3 separate regions of the Homo sapiens genome follow, and all the other regions are linked to region 1. The links are contacts of gene promoters, found by promoter capture Hi-C in blood cells and fetal thymus (Javierre and others, 2016). All regions are on one chromosome and are shown on one strand. The core of a region is centred on a gene start or on the middle of the fragment in contact, and the rest is flanking DNA. Distances in the headings are between cores, read along the strand shown. Region 1 holds the start of LINC01888 (long intergenic non-protein coding RNA 1888). Region 2 overlaps PROKR1 (prokineticin receptor 1). Region 3 has its middle 46 kb from the start of PROKR1.

What was found. The method cuts DNA at HindIII sites, captures the fragments that hold promoters and counts their contacts. A CHiCAGO score of 5 or more calls a contact.
Region 2: a fragment that was not itself captured here is called in contact with the fragment with the promoter of LINC01888 in region 1 in 1 of 17 cell types (activated CD4 T cells); the score reaches 5.7 in activated CD4 T cells.
Region 3: a fragment that was not itself captured here is called in contact with the fragment with the promoter of LINC01888 in region 1 in 1 of 17 cell types (activated CD4 T cells); the score reaches 5.3 in activated CD4 T cells.

Annotation. Positions count from the first base shown.
Region 1 is chr2:68,829,750-68,833,826 of GRCh38, forward strand. LINC01888 (long intergenic non-protein coding RNA 1888) reads left to right here and starts at 2,259. Exons shown (of 2, transcript NR_183895.1): 1 at 2,259-2,403. It overlaps LINC01890 (long intergenic non-protein coding RNA 1890), which reads right to left. Exons shown (of 4, transcript NR_183884.1): 2 at 3,083-3,301; 3 at 1,611-1,756. RefSeq lists an enhancer at 1-169. The HindIII fragment of the contact is 9,437 bases long and covers 1-3,383 here.
Region 2 is chr2:68,646,834-68,650,765 of GRCh38, forward strand. All of the region lies in intron 2 of PROKR1 (prokineticin receptor 1), which reads left to right. Among named protein-coding and RNA genes, the nearest start is that of PROKR1, 5.2 kb to the left of the region's middle. The HindIII fragment of the contact is 167 bases long and covers 1,492-1,658 here.
Region 3 is chr2:68,595,346-68,599,311 of GRCh38, forward strand. No RefSeq gene overlaps it. Among named protein-coding and RNA genes, the nearest start is that of PROKR1, 46 kb to the right of the region's middle. The HindIII fragment of the contact is 181 bases long and covers 1,657-1,837 here.

The DNA.
Region 1 (4,077 bases), core at 1,009-3,508:
AGGATAAAAACTGGAAAACACTCTGATTGTATTTAATTCAACCTGTTTATTTAACGGACAGGGGAACTGAGGCCCAGAAACATAAATTAAATGGCCAGTGCTCACACAGAAATTAGGAAGAGGATTGAAGGAGGTGATTTTGGAGGGCTCCTCTAACCCATGATTCAGTGATTCTTGTGGTTCTTGCTTTCTCTCCAAGGGTTCTTTCCCCCAAACTGCAACCATGGTGTGAACCCCATTGAACATCCGTTGCTGAGTGCTTCCAGAATATAGAGCTCTCCTCAGCTCATGATCACAACCAAGACCCACCTAATATGATGCCAGTTTTTCACCTACTGTGTATTCCCAATACTATTTTAAAACACTGGTTCTCAGTCTTGGTGGCACAAGAGAATTACCTTAGGAACTGTAAACAAAAATTCTGATGCTCAGATCTTACTTCATATCAATTGAATCAGAATCTTTCGGGATGGGGCCTAAGAATTGGTAGTTAAAAGAAAAATTCCCAGTTGATTCCAATATACAATCAGGATGGTTAAATAGTTTTAAAACTGCTAAGTTTGGCTTTAGTCATGACTAATGGTAATATTAATTCTACCTGCTCCCCTTTCCCATCTCCAGTTAACACAGCTACATTCTCTGATTTACAGGCTGATTTTTCATGTGTTTATTCATCTAGGATAAGACATGATTAAGTGATACAGAATGGATTTATGTTATATGCCCATTATGCAGATGGTGAAAAGTGAGCCCAAAATTTTTTTAAAAAATGAGTATAACAGTAGCTTAGTATGAACAAATCCAAGGATTTTGAGAATTCCTAAATATATGGGGACACTGTTTACTTGCTTTAAGGATTGACTCTAAACATAGGCAAAGAAGATAAGCACTTGAGGGCCTGATTTAAAGAGTCCCGAGAATAGCTCTGATGAAAATCATCTCTTTTTCAGACTCATGTTAGATTGAGAAATCCCTACCAGTAGCCTTTGGAATATTAACCACAAACGTGATATTTCTGGGAGACTCCATGAAGCCTCCATTAATCGTTAGTATCATCTTTATATTAGTTATCTGCTTCCCAGCAGAAAGCTGTGTAATGAAGGAACGAGAGCCTGGCCAGATAAGCAGTGCTGTGGGTGGAGGAACAGATCAAGAGTATGGATGTTGGCCAGGCACAGTGGCTCACGCCTGTAATCCCAGCACTTTGGGAGGCCGAGGCGGGCAGATCACGAGGTCAGGAGTTCGACGCCAGTCTGGCCAACATAGTGAAACCCTGTCTCTACCAAAAATACAAAAAATTAGCCGGGTATGGTGGTGTGCGCCTGTAATCCCAGCTACTCTGGAGGCTGAGGCAGGAGAATCACGTGAACCTGAGAGGCGGAGGTTGCAGTGAGCCGAGATCTCGCCATTGCACTCCAACCTGGGTGACAGTGGGAGACTCTATCTCAAAAAAAAAAAAAAAGTATGGATGTTACCTAGGAGTATTGCAGTGTGGGCCCCTGGCTGCCTTAGGTGGGGTGAGGGTGCAAAAATCAGGCCTTAAAAAGGGAAACGGGGACTCATCATCAGGGTGGACGGAGAAATGGTTTGCCCCCACATACACCTGATACCTGCTCAAAGTTGGCACTTGTCCTCCTTCCTTCTCTCTGTTCTCCCTTATTGATGTCCTTTCAGTCCTGCTGAGGCCAGCCCATGCTAAACATCACCCTGGTTCTTGGGTCTTTGTTCAGCATCAGTAGCAATATCATGACAATAACTACCAATAATAAGCAACAAATACCATTTTAATACTTTCTGGTGAGCACTGTATCCATGTCATTTCCTTTAAATCTCAAATCAACTCTTTTCTGATTGCAATCAAACCTGTTTTACTGAGGTCTCAATGTGGCTTAGCTAGGAACTGAAGCGTATATACAGTCTACACAAGGCTACATTATCCTTGCCCTCACATAGGGAGGAAGTACAACATAGAAAATGACCCCTTGGCAGAGATGGACTAAAGCAAAATCTGCAAAGACTTTTTCTTTAAAAGGCTGGCAGGGATTCTGGAAAGAACCACTAACTGCCTTGTCTGACTCAGCATCAAGATGGAAAAATATACAGAGGCTGTTGCCTTCCCCACAGCCTAAGTCAAATCCACCTGCTTGCTCTGAGGCTGTCTGGGAGGCCACACATCACCATGCCCTTTCCTGGAGTCAATTCTTGGTCCCATGTCATTAGCCCCACCCTCGAAAGAACTCTGGGAATGGGGTTGCCTTGGAGTCCCCGGTTCCGTGTGGCTAAAGAGTGAGCCTCTCATATCTCCATGCTGAATTTCCTCACTCATTCACAACCCTCCTTTCCATTTCAAGAAATCTTTCTGTTCCCACAAGCCTGGGAGGGCCTTTGAGTGGGGCATATTGGGTAAGTTTGAAGGAGTACTGCCAGTGAGACCTTCAAAAGACTCTGTGTGAATGGGCTGGTGTTGGTGGGAGGAAACAGGGTCACAGATTCCCCTTCCCTTCCCCCTTGTAAGATGTGTCATCAGTTAAATATAGGCTCTGGCCCTGTGGACGTTTACAGGCTAAGACAGCCCGCCCTGACTGGGGCTCACAGCTTCTGAGAGGAGGACACTGGGATGTCTTCAGCCCATTTCACGTGGGCTGACTGTTTCCAAAACACTCCTGGTGGGTCAGCGAGCAGAGGAAGTGTTACCATGTGATCACTTTAGAAACACCCACCTAATGACGCACTAACACGGATTTGCCCTCTGTTTTTCACATTTGATCATTCCTGACACTTTGGCGAGGAAACAAAACCCTATTTCTCTTAGAAGTCACTCCTTCCCTGGATGTGAAAGAGGGCAGTGGTTTCCCTGTCAGTCCTCTTTTAGGGAAAGATCTGGGTGAGCACATGACCCAGCTCAGCTGGTCTGGGGCTGGACACAGACACAATTGTGAGAACTTGAACTGACTCACCAGGAAGCAGGTGGTTGGGACTAGGTACTGTTGTCTATTTCAGTGCTAGATATTGCCTTTAATGAAAAACTAGCCCCAATCAGAAAAAAGCCAACACCACGCTCTGCAATACTAAGTTGACTCACCTGTTGAAATGCTGTTTATTAAGCAAAACCAGTATCCTCAGAATTCCAGCTTTCACTTTCAAGTTTCTTATGTGGGATTTCATAGTATTGGGCCCAGTGATGTGTACATCAATGGTTTGGCTTGCTGTTTATGCTACTTATTTACTCGAGCAGTCACTCTGGTGTGTTCCCATGGCTTTTCTGAAAGTATTAGAATACAGCTCCCAAAGAATGTGAGTGCTATTGGAGAAATAAAATACATGGAAATCATATGGCATCCAGCAATTGCTATGCCTATCTTGAGATAGCTGATCCCTAGATAAGCTTGGTAGTTGTGTTACCAATGATGTCTTTTCTTAGTACACATAGATTGTACTCAAGGAATAGCAAAATGTTACAACACTGATTCTTCCTCCTATAGTTAATGGCATTTTAAAAGAGTTATGCTTGACTAAAGACATAGTTTTTAAAAATGCAAATATTGAGTGCTTTCAATTCCCTAAGCATGGTGTTTTCTGCTTTACCTGCAATGTATTAATTAATTTTCACAGAAAACTATGAGGCAGCGGCTACTATCATCCCCATTTTACAGATGAGAAAACCGAGACTTAGAAAGGTTAAGTAATCTGCTCAGGCTCACAGTTCATATCCCATTTCTAAGAGACATTTTTTTTTCATTCTAATACTTTTGAAATTCAGTATGTATTTTATAGTTGATTGGTGCATTTAAAATGGAACATCTTACAAATTGATGGCTACTTAGAACTGAGAAAATATAACTGACAGAAGCAAGCATCAAAACCACGTCTACCTGATTCTAGTATTGGATCATCCAACCACAGTGGCTTGAGTGTCAAAGGAAACAACCTGTGTCTAAGTAATGACCATAAAAGTAATAACTAGTCCACATTCACATTGAAGATAATGGTTCATATTCTTCCTATTTGATACTATTTACTCTATTAGAAAAATTGTCTGGTTTGGTCCGTTCAATTAGATTTATCTATTTATTTTTT
Region 2 (3,932 bases), core at 325-2,824, 180 kb before region 1:
GGCCAGGAGTTCGAGACCAGCATGGGCAACATATCCAGACCTCACCTTTTGAAAAAATTAAAAAATTAGCTGAGCGTGGTGGTGTGTGCCTGTAGTCCTAGCTAGTTGAGAGGCTGAGGCAGGAGGATCACTTGAGCCCAGGAATTCCAGGCTGCAGTGAGCTATGTTCATGCCACTGTGCTCCAGCCTGGGTGACAGAGGGAGACCTTGTCTCTAAAAAATAAATAAATAAATAAAAATAAAAAGATTGAGGGATTTGTTTTGAAAAAAAAGGGAACATATGTTTATTTACTTTTTGTTGTTGCATTAATCACTTTGCACCTTTTAGTCCATTTGCACAGATAGTGCAGAAGACCTGTTTCTGGTGATCGCAAATAAAATCAGTAAGAGCAGCCTCTGCATATCTTTCTTCAACTTAGTCTCTTCCTTTAGTGTAAACTTGTGCTAATGGGCCAGGCTGGTCTTTGTTCCTCGGGGGACAATCTTTGCTAGCTCCTCTGCCCACAGCTGGACTGTCATTACAAAGCACCTGGTTACAGTCTAGAGACAATTATCCTGAGGATCAAATCAGGCTTCTGTGTACTTGGATCTGAACAGCCTGTCTCTCTCCTTTAACCCAGAGAGCCTGAGGCATACATGCTCTCCCTGTTCTCTGGCCTCAAGGATCTGAGGGGGTTTGACCTGGCCCTCACAGTCAGGACAGTGTTCTAGGGAGGAGCACAGCTAAGAGAGCTTGTTTTCTGAGACCGTAGGCAGGGCGACCAGGGGTGGGATGACCGAAAAGGATAACCTGAAAAAAGGGGGTTACCAAGGAACCTCTGTCTATAAAACCGCTGAGGGGTGGAAACTCTGCCTCCCTTCTCTAGGGAAGGACATCAGGAAGTTAGCAGCTTACATAGCCCTTGGTCTGTCCCCGTAGATCCTTGCAGAGTGCTACTTCTTCTTGGCCAAATTCCCTCCACTGAATCACAGAGCCCTGCAGCTTTTCATTTACCTGGAGGCCAAATTCCCTCCACTGAATCAAAGAGCCCTGCAGCTTTTCATTTACCTGGACAAGGACCCCGCATGAACCCACTGAAGGAGCAGGAGGGGAGCAGTCAAGTAGAGTATCTACTTCGTAGGTTCCTTTCAAAGCTGCCAAGGAAGAGCTCCAGGGACTTTGTCTCTGAACTTTTTTGAAAGTAGAAGCCGCCACCTTCTCTCTTAGCCCATGAACAGGACAAAGCATACAGAGTCATTTCCTGAAGTTTCATACTAGCGAGAAACTACATGTGCTCAGCTACTAAAAGCAGGGTAGGGTGCCTCCTGTGGAGTGGGACCCTACTCCCCGGATGAGATCCATTTTACCACTTGAACGGAGTAACAATGGTAGGAGGAAGTAGCTTCAAGGGGAAAGGAAGCCAGGATACACTAAGGGGCATTGGGTTATTTGGAACATGTAAGAGTGATATCTATGTCAATCAGTCAGTCTCCATCTACTGAACTTCTTCAAGCTTATAACCTCCTTTCATACCAAACAGAGCTTGTCTGAAATACTGCAAGCATTTCTCTTGCAGTGTGAGTTTACACAAAGGAAATTAGATACAATAAGAAAGATGAATTAGAAAAAATGCTTTGCACCGTGGGAGCTTCTATGGTTGAGTGGGGTTATGATAGGAAGCTTGTACCCAGACCTCAAGGAAAGCACCATGTGCCTTCACAGGGCTGCCCAATGGTCTTGGTGGATGAATGGCTGCACCAATGCCCATTCTTTTATTGATGTTTGTGATCTTTGCTGCAATTATTTTTATTTGTATGTGTTGTTACCATCTAATTGTGGTCTAGGAATCATTAATTTTTCTCTGGTCTCACGTGTTGTTCAGGATTTGATCAGTTGGGAGCAACTAATTTTTATCTTGGTTTATAACAGATCTACTTAGTTGTAAAAATGTCTTTATTTTTGCTTAATGAAATTTCTGTAGCCATGTTGGCAGTTATTCTGCCTGGGTTTAAGTACCAGCTGTATTGTGTGTTGGGTATTATGTTAGTTATTTGACCTCTCTCTGCCTCAGTTTTCTCGCCTACAAAATGAGGATAAAAAGAAAGCCTATTGTATTGGGTTGCTTTGAGGATTGAATGAAATAAATATATTTAATTTCTTAGAACAATATTCAAAACAGTAAGCAATAAATAAACAGTGGATATGATAATTCTTAAATTAACCCTTATAGGAATGTCTACAACAAAAAAGCAGGTAAACTAATGAACATTTCTGACACACTAACCTTTTTGCTTTCATTGAAATTATTGTTTTTATGATGTGATTTAAAAAAAATACAAGATTTTTACAAAATGCCAGAACAGAACTATTTATCATCTACCTGCTTGTATTTGTCTATATTATTGGTTCCATTGTTCTCCGAGGCATCTAACCTAGAAGAAAGTCTCCTTTGTCCTGGCTGCTCTCCCTTCTTTACCAGCATTCATTCAACCTCCAGGTCTTGGCAATACCCGTTTGTTCATTCAGGGCTGGTATCCTAGTCTCCTCTTGGTCTTCCTGCCTTCAGTGTTTCTTGGATCTGCCCATCTGTCAACGCTACTCCCCTGACAATCCATCCTAAACTTTCATTCATTCATTCATTTAAACAATCCATTTTTATAGAGTAACTGTGATGTGACAGATGCTATTGCAAGCACTGGAGATACGACAGTGAATAAGACAAAAAAAACTCCTTGCTTTCCTGGAGCTTATAACCAAAGGATGGAGAGAGATCCAGTCAGGCAAACACAAAAGGAAGGTAATTTCAGAAGCAAGAAATACTCTGAACAAAAGAAGTACACAGGTAAAATGTCGAGGGTGGCTGAGGGTGGGACCTATTCTAGGTGAGTAGTCAAGAGAAGGGTCTCCGAGGAGAGGCCTTTGAACTGGCTTCTGAATGACACAGGGGGAAAGAGCCTGCCTTGGGAAGACAGGGAGCAAGCATCCCAGACAAGGGGGATTGTAAGTGAAAAGGCCCAGAGGCAGGAACAAACCAGATGGGTTCTACAAACAGAGGAACAGAGAGAAGCCTCCATGTGGCCCGAGGGAAGTAAGCAAGGCTGCAGCCAAATTAATCTTCTGTCTTGTACGTGTCTCCACTCTCCTGCTTAAAAACAAAAAACCAAACACCGCATATTCTCACTCATAGGTGGGAATTGAACAATGAGATCACATGGACACAGGAAGGGGAATATCACACTCTGGGGACTGTTGTGGGGTGGGGGGAGGGGGGAGGGATAGCATTGGGAGATATACCTAATGCTAGATGACGAGTTAGTGGGTGCAGTGCACCAGCATGGCACATGTATACATATGTAACTAACCTGCACAATGTGCACATGTACCCTAAAACTTAAAGTATAAAAAAAAAAGACCTCTAATAACTCCATTGTCTACAAAGTATGGCTCAAACTCTTTCACCTGTTCTTCCAAACTTTTATTATCTAGCCCCAGACTGCTTCCCAGTCTCATGGTTAAACATATTTATGTCCTGTTTTCCCAAAAATAGTTGCAATCTTTCTGAGAACTGTCCCCATGGCTTTTTATATATTAAAAATAAATTTTTTTAGAGATGAGATCTTGCTATGCTGCCCAGGCTAGTCTTGAACTAGTCTCAAGTAATTATTGTGCCCCGACCTCCCAAAGTGTTGGGATTACAGGTGTGAGCCACTGTGTCCAGCCAGCTTTTTACATGTCTATTCACCCAGCGCTAGGCACTCAATGAGGGTGAAGTTGCACCAAAATCCTGTTAGGTACTCAGAATTCACAGAGAGTAAAAGGTTATAAAAGAAGTAAGACATAATCACAGCTCTTGGGGGGCTGACCATCTAGAGTTGGGGGTAGGGTGGGACCAGGGAGAACTAACACTTACAAAACAGTTAAAGAATAAGTAAAGGATAAATTTTAAATAACA
Region 3 (3,966 bases), core at 497-2,996, 230 kb before region 1:
TTTTGTTTTTGTATATGCTCTCCATCGCCCTCTACCGGGGCAGACAGGGTGGTGTAGCAGCAAAGAGCTCCCAGACCTGGGTGAGCTTCAGATTTTTATCTGGAAAATGGGGATAACACACCCATCTTGTAGAAGTGTTGAAAGGATGAGGAGAAAATATGTATGTAATGTGTCCATCAAGTGCTTAGCACATGGTGTGGTGGCACTAGATACATGTAACTGCAGCTGTTATTTTCTTTTTCTCTTTTTTTCCAAGTTATCAGCATTTATTTATTTTTATTTATCAACTTCTATTTTCAGTTCCAGGGTACATGTGCGGGATATGCAGGTTTGTTACATAGGTAAACGTGTGCCATGGTGGTTTGCTGCACAGATCAACCCATCACCTAGGTATTAAGCCCAGCACCCATTAGCTGTTCTTCCTGATGCTCTCCCTCTTGACAGGCCTCAGCCTGTGTCGTTCCCCACCCACCCCATGTGTCCATGTGTTCTCATCATTCAGCTCCTACTTATAAGTGAGAACATGTGGTGTTTGGTTTCTGTTCCTGCATTAGTTTGCTGAGGATAACAGCTTCCAGCTCCATCCATGTCCCTGCAAAGAACATGATCTCATTCTTTTTTATGGCTGCATAGTATTCCGTGGTGTATATATACCACATTTTCTTTATCCAGTCTATTATTGATGGGCATTTGGGTTGATTCCATGTCTTTGCTACTGTGAGTAATGCAGCTGTTATTTTCTTGTGTATCCAAAGTCCTCTTTGTGACCTTTCTTTCCCTTACTTTGTGGGCTCTGCAGGTTGCCCTCTTCTTTGAAATCCCAGCACCCTTTTCTCAAATCTTTCAAAGAGAATCAATTGCTTGGGAGAAAATTTCCCTTCCTTATCAGGATCAGTTTGGCTATTGCAGAACATGCTGGGGTTCTTTCTTTGTCTGGTTGGTACCTAGCTTGGATTTTCTCCAGTCCTCCCATGTTAGTGGAGGGTGTAGCCTTCAAGAATACAGCTGCCTATGGGAGGCAGCCTCATCTTTAAATGAAATTTCTGAGTCTAAGGACAAGTAAGGATGAGCCTATGTTTAGCCTATGTTTAGGGATGTCCAGATATGTTATGTACAGTGAGGGTGACTATAATTCAACACCACATTGGAACACTTCTGAAAATGAAAGAGAACACTAAAATCTTTTAAAATGCTTTTAAAATACTTATTTATTAAACAACAAATTTTTTTTTGTTGTATTAGCAGACCTGCAAAATAGTTTTATTCAAATCATTTTTCAAAAATGAAATCCTTTTAAAAATATAAATACATCTGTGTCTATAATTAGCCCAAATTTAAAATTTCATTATGTTTTTAAATTTAAAAAAATAATACAAGCAGAATATTTATTCTTCATACATATTCTTGTACTTGAATCAGTTTCTTAACCATATTTGTCTCTAATTCTGTGACAGTAGTATTTTACTAAAGAATGTATTTTTTAAAATATGATCTAATTTTTAATTTTTTCATAAAATTATCTGAAGTCTTGTTCACAGTTGTCATTTATGGTTAATGAATTTGAAATTGTTTATGCCTTCATTTGTTTCTTCTCTGCAGAACATAATATCGTTAATGGAGAAAATACTCTCAGTATAGATATTGAAGTACCCAGTAAGCTTAAAGAAAATTATTCTAAATGGAGGCTATTCCCAAATCTATTTTGTTTTATATTGAAATGAAACAATATGTCAACCCCAACATTTTCAGAGGTACTGTCTTTTACCTGTATTCAGAATATTTTTTCTTAAGAAATGTTTTTACATAACAGACACATCAAATATAAGTTGTCTGTATAAGCTTTTGGAGTCTTTTAGCAGAGTTTCAGATGTTATAAAAATCATAGCCCTATTCGGCTCAAAATAAAGGGATGGAGGAAGATCTACCAAGCGAATGGAAAACAAAAAAAGGCAGGGGTTGCAATCCTAGTCTCTAATAAAACAGACTTTAAACCAACAAAGATCAAAAGAGACAAAGAAGGCCATTACATAATGGTAAAGGGATCAATTCAACAAGAAGAGCTAACTATCCTAAATATATATGCACCCAATACAGGAGCACCCAGATTCATAAAGCAAGTCCTTAGAGACCTACAAAGAGACTTAGACTCCCACACAATAATAATGGGAGACTTTAACATCCCACTGTCAACATTAGACAGATCAACGAGACAGAAAGTTAACAAGGATATCTAGGAATTAAACTCAGCTCTGCACCAAGCGGACCTAATAGACATCTACAGAACTCTCCACCCCAAATCAACAGAACATACATTCTTCTCAAGACCACACCTCACTTATTCCAAAATTGACCACATAGTTGGAAGTAAAGCACTCCTCAGCAAATGTAAAAGAACAGAAATTGTAAAAAACTGTCTCTCTGACCACAGTGCAATCAAACTAGAACTCAGGATTAAAAAACTCACTCAAAACCGCTCAACTACATGGAAACTGAACAACCTGCTCCTGAATGACTACTGGGTACATAATGAAATGAAGGCAGAAATAAAGATGTTCTTTGAAACCAACGAGAACAAAGACACAACATGCCAGAATCTCTGGGACACATTTAAAGCAGTGCTTAGAGGGAAATTTATAGCACTAAATGTCCACAAGAGGAAGCAGGAAAGATCTAAAATTGACACCCTAACATCACAATTAAAAGAACTAGAGAAGCAAGAGCAAACACATTCAAAAGCTAGCAGAAGGCAAGAAATAACTAAGATCAGAGAAGAACTGAAGGAGATAGAGACACAAAAAAACCCTTCAAAAAATCAGTGAATCCAGGAGCTGGTTTTTTGAAAAGATCAACAAAATTGATAGACCACTAGCAAGACTAATAAAGAAGAAAAGAGAGAAGAATCAAATAGACACAATAAAAAATGATAAAGGGGATATCACCACTGATCCCACAGAAATACAAACTACCATGAGAGAATACTATAAACACCTCTACGCAAATAAACTAGAAAATCTAGAAGAAATGGATAAGTTCCTCGACACATACACCCTCCCAAGACTAAACCAGGAAGAAGTTGAATCCTGAATAGACCAATAATAGGCTCTGAAATTGAGGCAATAATTAATAGCTTACCAACCAAAAAAGTCCAGGACCAGATGGATTCACAGCCAAATTCTACCAGAGGTATAAGGTGGAGCTGGTACCATTCCTTCTGAAACTATTCCAATCAACAGAAAAAGAGGGAATCCTCCCTAACTCATTTTATGAGGCCAGCATCATCCTGATACCAAAGCCTGGCAGAGACACAACAAAAAAGAGAATTTTAGACCAATATCCCTGATGAATATCGATGGAAAAATTCTCAATAAAATACTGGCAAATCGAATCCAGTAGCACATCCAAAAGCTTATCCACCATGATCAAGTGGGCTTCAGCCCTGGGATGCAAGGCTGGTTCAACATACACAAATCAATAAACGTAATCCAGCATATAAACAGAACCAGAGACAAAAACCACATGATTATCTCAATAGATGCAGAAAAGATGTTGAATTTTGACAAAATTCAACAGCCCTTCATGCTAAAAACTCTCAATAAAATAGGTATTGATGGGATGTATCTAAAAATAATAAGAGCTATTTATAACAAACCCACAGCCAATATCATACTGAATGGGCAAAAACTGGAAGCATTCCCTTTGAAAACTGACACAAGACAGGGATGCCCTCTCTCACCACTCCTATTCAACATAGTGTTGGAAGTTCTGGCCAGGGCAATCAGGCAGGAGAAAGAAATAAAGGGTATTCAATTAGGAAAAGAGGAAGTCAAATTTTCCCTGTTTGCAGATGACATGATTCTATATCTAGAAAACCCCATTGTCTCAACCCAAAATCTCCTTAAGCTGATAAGCAACTTCAGCAAAGTCTCAGGATACAAGATCAATGTGCAAGAATCACAAGCATTTTTA